Regions from separate parts of the Homo sapiens genome. Here all the other regions are linked to region 3. Evidence: promoter capture Hi-C in 16 types of primary human blood cells and fetal thymus (Javierre and others, 2016). All regions are on one chromosome and are shown on one strand. The core of a region is centred on a gene start or on the middle of the fragment in contact, and the rest is flanking DNA. Distances in the headings are between cores, read along the strand shown.

What was found. The method cuts DNA at HindIII sites, captures the fragments that hold promoters and counts their contacts. A CHiCAGO score of 5 or more calls a contact.
Region 1: a fragment that was not itself captured here is called in contact with the fragment with the promoter of RECQL in region 3 in 1 of 17 cell types (monocytes); the score reaches 5.2 in monocytes.
Region 2: a fragment that was not itself captured here is called in contact with the fragment with the promoter of RECQL in region 3 in 1 of 17 cell types (naive B cells); the score reaches 5.8 in naive B cells.

What each region holds. Positions count from the first base shown.
Region 1 is chr12:22,475,110-22,477,987 of GRCh38, forward strand. All of the region lies in intron 15 of C2CD5 (C2 calcium dependent domain containing 5), which reads right to left. Among named protein-coding and RNA genes, the nearest start is that of C2CD5, 68 kb to the right of the region's middle. The HindIII fragment of the contact is 714 bases long and covers 1,031-1,744 here.
Region 2 is chr12:22,444,870-22,447,992 of GRCh38, forward strand. No RefSeq gene overlaps it. Among named protein-coding and RNA genes, the nearest start is that of C2CD5, 98 kb to the right of the region's middle. The HindIII fragment of the contact is 307 bases long and covers 1,333-1,639 here.
Region 3 is chr12:21,500,235-21,503,339 of GRCh38, forward strand. RECQL (RecQ like helicase) reads right to left here and starts at 1,401. Exons shown (of 15, transcript NM_002907.4): 1 at 936-1,401. It overlaps GOLT1B (golgi transport 1B), which reads left to right and starts at 1,555. Exons shown (of 5, transcript NM_016072.5): 1 at 1,555-1,714. The coding sequence starts at 1,690. RefSeq lists enhancers at 685-754, 775-824, 865-1,054, 1,195-1,254, 1,205-1,912 and 2 more. The HindIII fragment of the contact is 11,962 bases long and covers 1-3,105 here.

The sequences.
Region 1 (2,878 bases), core at 138-2,637, 970 kb after region 3:
CATAACAAGATAAAACTGACATCTAGTGTACACACAGGACACTACAATGTGTATGGAATTGGCAGTCCTTACAGCTCTGAAATCCAGTACTGCTGTGTGTGCATATTTTCTATTCAGCATTATAAAAGTCCTAATAGGCCTTAAAAATTTAAAGACTTATGTTCCTAGAAAGAATTCTAATCTTTTATATATTTTCTTATCCACTTTCAAAGCTCCATATAGCAAAATGTGAAATATGATCAATGTATGAGTATGAATACATATATACTTATACTATGCACATATTTGCTATTCAATTTATTAAGCTAAATAAACATTGGTACTTACAATAATGATCTTTTTAAGGTCAGTGTATGGTGCAATACTGTATGGCTTAGTGAGCTTTTTGCTGTTACATAGCCAAAGATCACTAGGGGTTCTAAGTGTCTGTCGGCCACAAGGAATGCTGGAAGAATATGAATACGTGAACGCAAAAGCAAAAGCCATAGCCTATTGCTGATGCAACAGAATTGTCTTTTTAATAAACAAGGAAATTGTACATAAAATTTTTCAAAAATATATAGTTTTAAATGTTCATTGGTAGTATGCACCTTAGATAAAAGACTACCACTGCACAATTTCATAATGTAATGATCTATGGAGCACTTTCACATCAATTTATCTTATTTGTACTCCAAATTAATCTGCCCTCTATAAAGTTAACATTATAATAACTACAAAATGGAAAAGAGCTGTAATTCAGAAGTAAATTAGTAGTCTGCCTAAATTTGGAAAACTAGCAAGTGTAGAGCCAGTCTAGGTCAGTCTTTTGACACACAGTGCAACGTTATTCCCACTAGATACCACACTACTTTTTATAATTTTACAATAGTTTTAAATTCTGTTATGCCTTTGTTCACAATGCCACAGACTTAACAAATATAACTGTCTGGTATTTAATATGTTCTAGATTCATACTGAAATTTCATCACTAGTACTGTTATTCTGAGAGATGTGCATCTTATTTTGATACCTTTGATTATCTCCATAAAGCTTAAGTGGTACTACACCTTTGTATTAGAAACATTTTTTAATGTATTGACAAAAAATTTAAACAGCAGCATTTATTTCAGTGAGGGCTATCATCCTAAGAGAAGGAACACTCTGATCTACATATTCAGGGTGGACATAACACAACACTGTAATGTGTATAGTGGCCTGGTAATCAACCTTGTACACTGACTCTGTCAAAAAAAATGCTGAGAGATTATGCTAAAAGACTATAATGTAGTCAGTATCTACAATAAGGAAAGACATATTAGAAGATGCATAAACTGATGAGTACTGTTGTGAAAATACAGTCATCCTCAACACATGAAATTCATATATGTTAAAATTTTTAAAATCATAATAGATTTACTCCCTCCTTCCAAATGTAAACTGTATGACACATAGTAGCAGCTCAATAAGTACTGAATGGATGAAGTAACTTAATTCATAGTCTTATTTAAACACATCCCTGTCTCCAAAGGGCTTACATTATAGTAAAGGAAGACAGATATATAAAAACTAAGTACAATAATATGTAACAGTTTCTATACAAGTACATACAGGTACAACAAGTACACAATGGAGGAAGAGTCCATTCTTCCTGTTAGAGGTCAGGATGGATTTACAGAGGTGAGAAACACTATTAAGTAAGTAAAAAAGTTCAGCTCATATCATTAGAAATAATAAATGAAGAATATATGAAACCCTAACACAAAGCTTTACAAATCATTTTTCCCAAGTGGCATACTATAAACAGATGTTCAAATATCAAAATATAACTACCAAATAAAAATAATGTACTATAAAAATAAGCAGTCAGTAGAGTGGTGCACAGAGAACTTTTACAAAGTCTATTTTTCAAATATGAATATGTTAACACATCAACATTTGCATTCATTTTAAAGAAGCCCTAAGTCAGTATTGTTCAATAGAAATATAAAGCAAGCCACATACATAATAAAGTAAAAAGAAACAGATAAAATCCATTTTAATAAAACATTTTATTTCATTCAGTATATCCAAAATATTAAATTTTTGACACAAAATCAATACAAAAATATTCATATTTTACACTACTTTTTCACAGTAAATCTTTAAAATCCAGTGTATATTTTATACTTACTACACATTTCAATTCAGACTAGTCACAAGTCCTCAAAAGTCACATGTGGCCAGCGGCTACCACAGTGAATAATGAATAGTGCAGCTGTAGGTCATAACCTTAAAATTCCTCCCAAATTAACAACTATGCTAGAATAATATGATGAAAGCTATACATGTGACGCAACAATCCAGACACACTGTTCCAGAAGACCAGCCAAAATTAGATAAGACGTTTAAAATAATAAAAGCAATAATGTTATACTTTCTTTTTTTATTTTTTTAATTATACTTTAAGTTTTAGGGTACATGTGCACAATGTGCAGGTTTGTTACATATGTATACGTGTGAATGTTATACTTTCCTTTTGTGAAAGTCTTTCATTATCAGAGACTCATAAAAACAAATAGTTTCATTCTAATTCCAACCCATTTTTCTTTCAATTCAGACTCTTGCCATCAGTCATCCACAGAGGAGGCAGCATTGTGATACTTATTGCAAAGTTGGTAAAAAGACTGATTAAAGGAAATGACTGGGAGCAAATTTGTAAAAAAAGAAACTGTAACTGAAAAACTATATTCTTTCACATTTTTACCACCAATAAGAATCTCTTTTTACTAACAAAGAACATTTTAAACCATTTATTTCATCATTCAACAAATACTAAGAGACTACCACCAATAGGAACTTTTCTAGGCAATAGAAACAAAGCCCTCATGAAGCTTCATTCTACCAGTACTAACAGGCA
Region 2 (3,123 bases), core at 236-2,735, 940 kb after region 3:
ACAGTCTTACTTTCAAAAAGCAGAGGAACCATTTTTATGTTTTTATTTTTTATATGTAAAAATATAGTCTTTGTTGGAGAGTACGTGGAGAAAAGGGAACCTTGCACGCTGTTGATAAGAATATAAATTAGTACAGCCATTATGGAAAAGAGTCTGGAGGCTTCCCAAAAAATTGAAAATAGTACTACCATACGATCCAGCAATCCCACTACTCTGCATGTTTCCAAGGGATATGAAATCAGTATGTCAAAGAGGTATCTGCACTCTCATGTTCATTACAGCGTTTTTCACAATAGCCAAGTTATGAAATCAACCTAAGTGTCCACAAACAGATAAGTGGATAGAGAAAATATGGTATCTATACACAATGGGATGCTCTTCAGTCTTTAAAAAGAAGGAAATTCTGCCATTTTCAACAACATGAATGAACCTGGAAGACACAATGTTAAGTAAAATAAGCCAGGCAAGAATGACAAATACCACATGATCTTACATAGTATATGTGAAATCTAAAAAAGTTGAACTCATAGAAGTAGATAGTAAAATGGTGGTTGCCAGAGGTGAGGCCTTAGGAGATGTTGGTCAAAGGATACAAAACTTCAATTAAATAGGAGGAATAAGTTCAAGGAGTCTATTGTACAACATGGTGACTACAGTTAATAATGTATTGTGTTCTTGAAAATTGCTAAGAGAAGTAGATTCTCAGTGGTCCCACCACAAAAGAAAAAAGTGAGGTAATGCATATGCTAATTAGCTCAATCTAGTCATTCCACAATGTATATATAATTTAAAACAACTGTTGTACAAGATTAATATCTGCAATCTTTGGCTATTAAAAAAAGTCAAAAAATTATATATAATTATATATCTACTTTATATAAATTCAGATATCAATATAGGTATATTAATATATAATTTATATATAAATATATCTAATTATATAGAAATATGTTATATATATTAAATGTTATATATATTAAATATATATTATATATTATATATATAATATATATAATATATATTAATAATTAATCTATTAACTATTTATATTATATATAAATAATATATTGATTTATATTATAAATATATTTATATTTAATTATATATATATATGTAGAGAGAGAGAGAGATTGAGAGTCTTTATAGTGCCTTGACTTTTCTATTAGAAAGAAGCCAAGCTTCCTAGGATACTATTTATCCAACCATTCCTAACATTTTCTTCAGCGTGGTTCCTTATTCAGCCTGGGGTCAAATAAGTGGTTTCAATAAACCTCCTGAAGTAGTATGCAAAAGTTCATGTATATGCTTATTTTGGGGGACAAAAAGGTCCAAAGCTTAGATCGGATTACCAAAAGTACTCTGAAAATGACCCTCCTCTGAGGGAAAAAGAAAAAAAAGGTTTGTAAATAAATGTGTTGCTTCCACACAACACACATTTTTATGCTTCCACGTCTTTATGCACTGGTGCCATGAGATTAGGTGGCGTATTGGGAAGAGGATAGGTTTTGATCTCCCAGACTTCCGATTCAAGCTAAACCGGCTAAGTAGTAACAACATTTATGGAAATAAGAAATAGTAAATTTTTACTGATGGAGACATACTAACAAAAGAGCAATTCAAGATGTATGAAAATTGATGAAGCTTAAGGACAGCCCCCCCACACCAAAAAAAAAATCAAAGAGAGAATAGAGGTCAATTTAACTAAGAAGCTAAAAAAAAGGAAAGATGGTCACACTGTCCATAACAAAAAGTATAGATATTGTGAAAAGTTACTGTAAAGATAGACAACAAAATAGGGGGGAAATTGTCACACACAGCAGATTAAATATTAACAAGAAAAAGTCAACCCCATAGGACAGAAATTTTCATTTTCACAAAAAAAGTGCAAACTCAAATGCAAAATAGCTCTATTATTCCTACTGGCCAAAAATGTTGTCCATGCATAGACGCATCTCAAAAAGCATTATGCCAAATGAAAGTTGCTGAGCACAAGATCCCACTGACATGGAAGGGGGAGTAGACTGACTGCAGAGGGACACCAGGGAACTTTATTGGTGATGGAAACGTTCCATATCTTGGCTACATGATGGAATATATTTGCCAACCTCAAACTATACACTTAAAATAGATGAATTTTGTTGAATTTAAATTATATCTAACAGATTTTTCAAAATATGTAAGGACACACACTAGGTTATTAACATGGATTGGAAGGGATGTGATAGGGAAGAAGAGCAAACCAGGCAAAAGGGTAAAAAAGAAAACTACTCTAAACATTGTTTATATAATCCCATTTATGCACTTATGAAAAAGCTGTATGCATTAAAAAAAAACTCACCAAATAATACTGCAAGACTGCAATCCAATACTTATATCTTTGGCATGTTCAAATTCAAGGGCAGAACAGGTGATAAAAGCCAGATGACAATGCATCATGGGAGAGAAGGAGGTGGAGGAAGTGCGACAGTGAGTTCGTTTAAATTGAGTCGTTGCCCCTAGAAGCAGTGATGAAAGATGAAGGGCATGTTAAGCCTGCTGTAAATGCTGTAAACTGGCCTATTTCCAAGAGTAAGTCCCAGCATGTCCATTCCAGATGCTCATGTTTCAGGGGTAATGTACGCATAGTGAAAGAGCAGCAGCTCTTGGGGTGTAGGTTAACATTAGCCTTTCTGGAAGGAACCAATCTTGGTCCAGATGATTGTGCTTCAAAGGTAGCCCACAGGAGCAAACAGTCCCATGTGAGTAAATAGGCAGCAAGTTTGGGTGGTTAAGGAAACTCCAGCTTTGACAGAAATCAGTCTGGGTCTCACCATGAGTATACAATTGTTCATACTAAAATAGAGATAATCCCACCTGGCTTGTTTTATGAATTATTAGCAATATCGTTATGTACACAGGACATGGCACAAAACAGCCAATTAGCAATGGCTGTTATTATTCCTTTGCCTAGAAAGACTCTGGAGCACACTATGCAATCACGTAACAGCTGCTGGATGGACAAACGGCTGGACGAATGGATGCATGGATGAATAAACTGGGAATACCCAATTCCAGTGAACTACTTTTCCTGACTGAGCTAAAACATTGTCTCCTTTGGGAAGTACCTCTATTCCAAGCTACACT
Region 3 (3,105 bases), core at 151-2,650:
TTTTCTAAGTTAGAGGTGGGGGGAGGGGAAAATGGTTTGTAATGATTTCTAAGTATCTATGAATGACTAAAACCTAAGCATGCATATGGACAAGTGGAAAATGGGGCTGGAGAGTAGAAACTTTAAATTCCCCATAATCCTAAAAACACCTCTTCTATCTCTCTAATATGGACATTTTCTAAAACTAAGATGCTCTCCAAAAGTCACTTCTGCAACACCTATCCTTAGACTGCTGACCTTACGCCCTTTCTACACAGAATTCTGAAGCCACCACTAGGCCGGAAAGATAGGCTGACTCTTTTTTGCCTTGCTAAAGAATGTGGAATAACCACACCATTAAAAGAAGGCTAAATAGGAGAGTAAACCAAGGATTTCTAATTCTTGATCTATACAAACATCTCTTCACGTAATGAAAATGTAACATTCCTTCCATAGACTGTAAGGTCCTTTAGCAGGGCTGGGGTTCAATCTCTTCACCTTTGTATCCGCACAGCCCAGGAAAATGCCTTGATGTAGTGAGGGCTCAGGTTTGCTAAGGTAGCAGGGGCTGTTTCTACCCTTATGAAAAGACACAGTCTATATCCAATTCTCCCCCACGATTTTAAATGACTCCTTTGATTATGCGGTTAAAAGACTGCTCCTTCCCAAAATGATGTGATTTAACAGCAAAAGATATCTCAACATAAAATGTATCCAGAAATTGAACTACAGCAGGTCTGTCACTCAGCAGTATAAGCTAGGCATCCACAGGAAGAATGTTACAGGGTGACAGCCAGTCATCAATGTTGGAGGAAACGCCACTGAGATACCATAGGCTAAATCCTCTCTCTCCCCGCCACCTGCATTTAGAGGCAATAGTAATTTAATATTAATAACGCCCGCCCTTCCGCTACTGTGAAGCAGGGGGTGGAAGAAGCATCCCCAGTAGTATTTACCAACAAATGGCAGCTGCTAATAAACAGGCTTTGGTGGCCAATCCTCCTGCATGGAAAAGAATGGGGAGATCAGAAGACCGGTCAGCAGGCGAACGTGCCCCTAAAGGCCCGAGTTCTCAGAGCAGGGCAGTGATTAACTTTCCGGTTTCTCCTCCGCCAATGTGTGGGCGAAAGGAAGTGATCCGCTACAGACCGGCCTCGCCCTGCAGCAGGAAAGGGAAGGATGAAACAAAAAGCGCACACCCTTGACCCTTCAAAGCTGTAACAGTAGTTATCCCAGAGCCTCTCCCCACCGAGAAGCCCGGTCTAACTCTCCGGTGTTTGACTGTCCGGTGTCCGACTGTCCTGTGTCCGACTCTCCGATCTCCGACTCTCGGATCTCCGACACCAAAGCACCCAGGCCTCGAGCAGATCTTTCCGCTACTCGGGAGTAAAATCTTCCCGCCAGCCAGCTGAGAGCATCCACCCTTCCGGGTCGGTCCGTTCAGCCAATCACAGATAACTCCCTTCTCTAATTGGTCAAGGGGTGTGGTCACCATGCGCGTCACCGAACAACATTACGAGTTATTGGTTGAGATTGGAAGCAGGTTTCGCCAATAGGAAGCGCTCTTAAAGCGGCAGTGAGGGTGGCTGCGTGTTTCCGGAAGACGTGGCGGCTCTCGCCTGGGCTGTTTCCCGGCTTCATTTCTCCCGACTCAGCTTCCCACCCTGGGCTTTCCGAGGTGCTGTCGCCGCTGTCCCCACCACTGCAGCCATGATCTCCTTAACGGACACGCAGAGTAAGCACCTGCTCCGGGGCCCCCGCCTCGAGCCGCGCACACCCATCGCCCGGCTGGGTCTCGCCCCTCCGCCGGGGTCAATGAATGAAGCTCTGGGTTGGGGGCGGTGGCCTGCGAGACAGAGCTAGGGCTGCTGGGACCCTAAGGGGCTGCCTTCGGGATGCCGGGGCTAGACTTGGACTGGCGGACCTGACCTGGGAGAAGAGTCTGTGGGGCAGGGTGGGACGCCCTATGTTGGGAGGGGAGCTTTAGCCCAGAGTCTGTCTCATTCCAGGGTCGCGCTGATCTCCTCATCCCCAGTGAGATGGGCGCTTTGTTCTAGGGGCTTGCCACAAGAGAAAGTTTGCGTGGTGCCCGCGGCCCACTCTCGGGATCGTTTATGCGCATGACACACTTCGGGTCCTCTACAAGTCCCTGGCTGGCTGGTTATTTGGGAGGCGGTATTTTAAATGTCACCTACAGTAGGCTCTTTTTGAAAATGTCCTTACGCTTAAATGTGGCATTTTGAATATTCGCTTTTTGCCAGTACTGTAAGCAACCTTTTAGAAGTCTCTTGAAACATTCTCACTTTTCTACCTGCTAAAGTTTCAAGCAGTAGAGAAAAGCCACTTTGTGTGCCATTAAAGGATATATTTCGTTAGTATTGTATATTGTGCTTTGTGGCTTGTTTTATTATTTTAGCATCGCTCTCTGCCTGCCACAGAGTTCTCCAGGCCTATTTCATCTCTAAAGCTAGCATTGATATCGGTTTCCTTTTCTTTCATTATAATATTTCCACTTTCCTACTGCTTTTTGTTAATATTAATAATTTTTGTATTTATGTCTGCCCAAGCTCTGTACCTCATATTTTGATGTTCATAAGAGTCTCTTTTTGTCTCACTTTGCTTTATCTGCCACGCCTTTCATTTCACTCCAGTTAACTCAGATTTTCAATATTTTAAGACTTAAACAGTGAATTGAAGTGAAAAATAGAAGTTTATTTAAAATGCCCTATTTTAAAGTGGAGTCTTCTTGTGGAGATTCAAGTCATGGCAGACCAACTTCACAGAGCTTCTAAGGCCTCCTACACACACTGCCACCCCCCAATCAGGCTGTCTTCCCTCCTGAGGCTGGACTGGGGCTGCCTCTTGGGGCCACCTGCCCCAAGGTTGCCGCCCACTTTGGTCCATTGGCCTGGCCTGTTCTGATCAAAGAAAATAAAAGTGTAGTCTTGAGGGGATAGGAATCTAGTGTAATAATAATTACTGGCAATTATATAAAGGTATTTTCTTTCAGTTAACCATGTGCTTTCATGTGAATCATTATGCATAATTCTTATAAGAGCCCTGTAAGGCTCACAGAAGCATGCCCCTTTCATAAGTTAAATGAGGCACAAAAGAAATTGAGTGCAT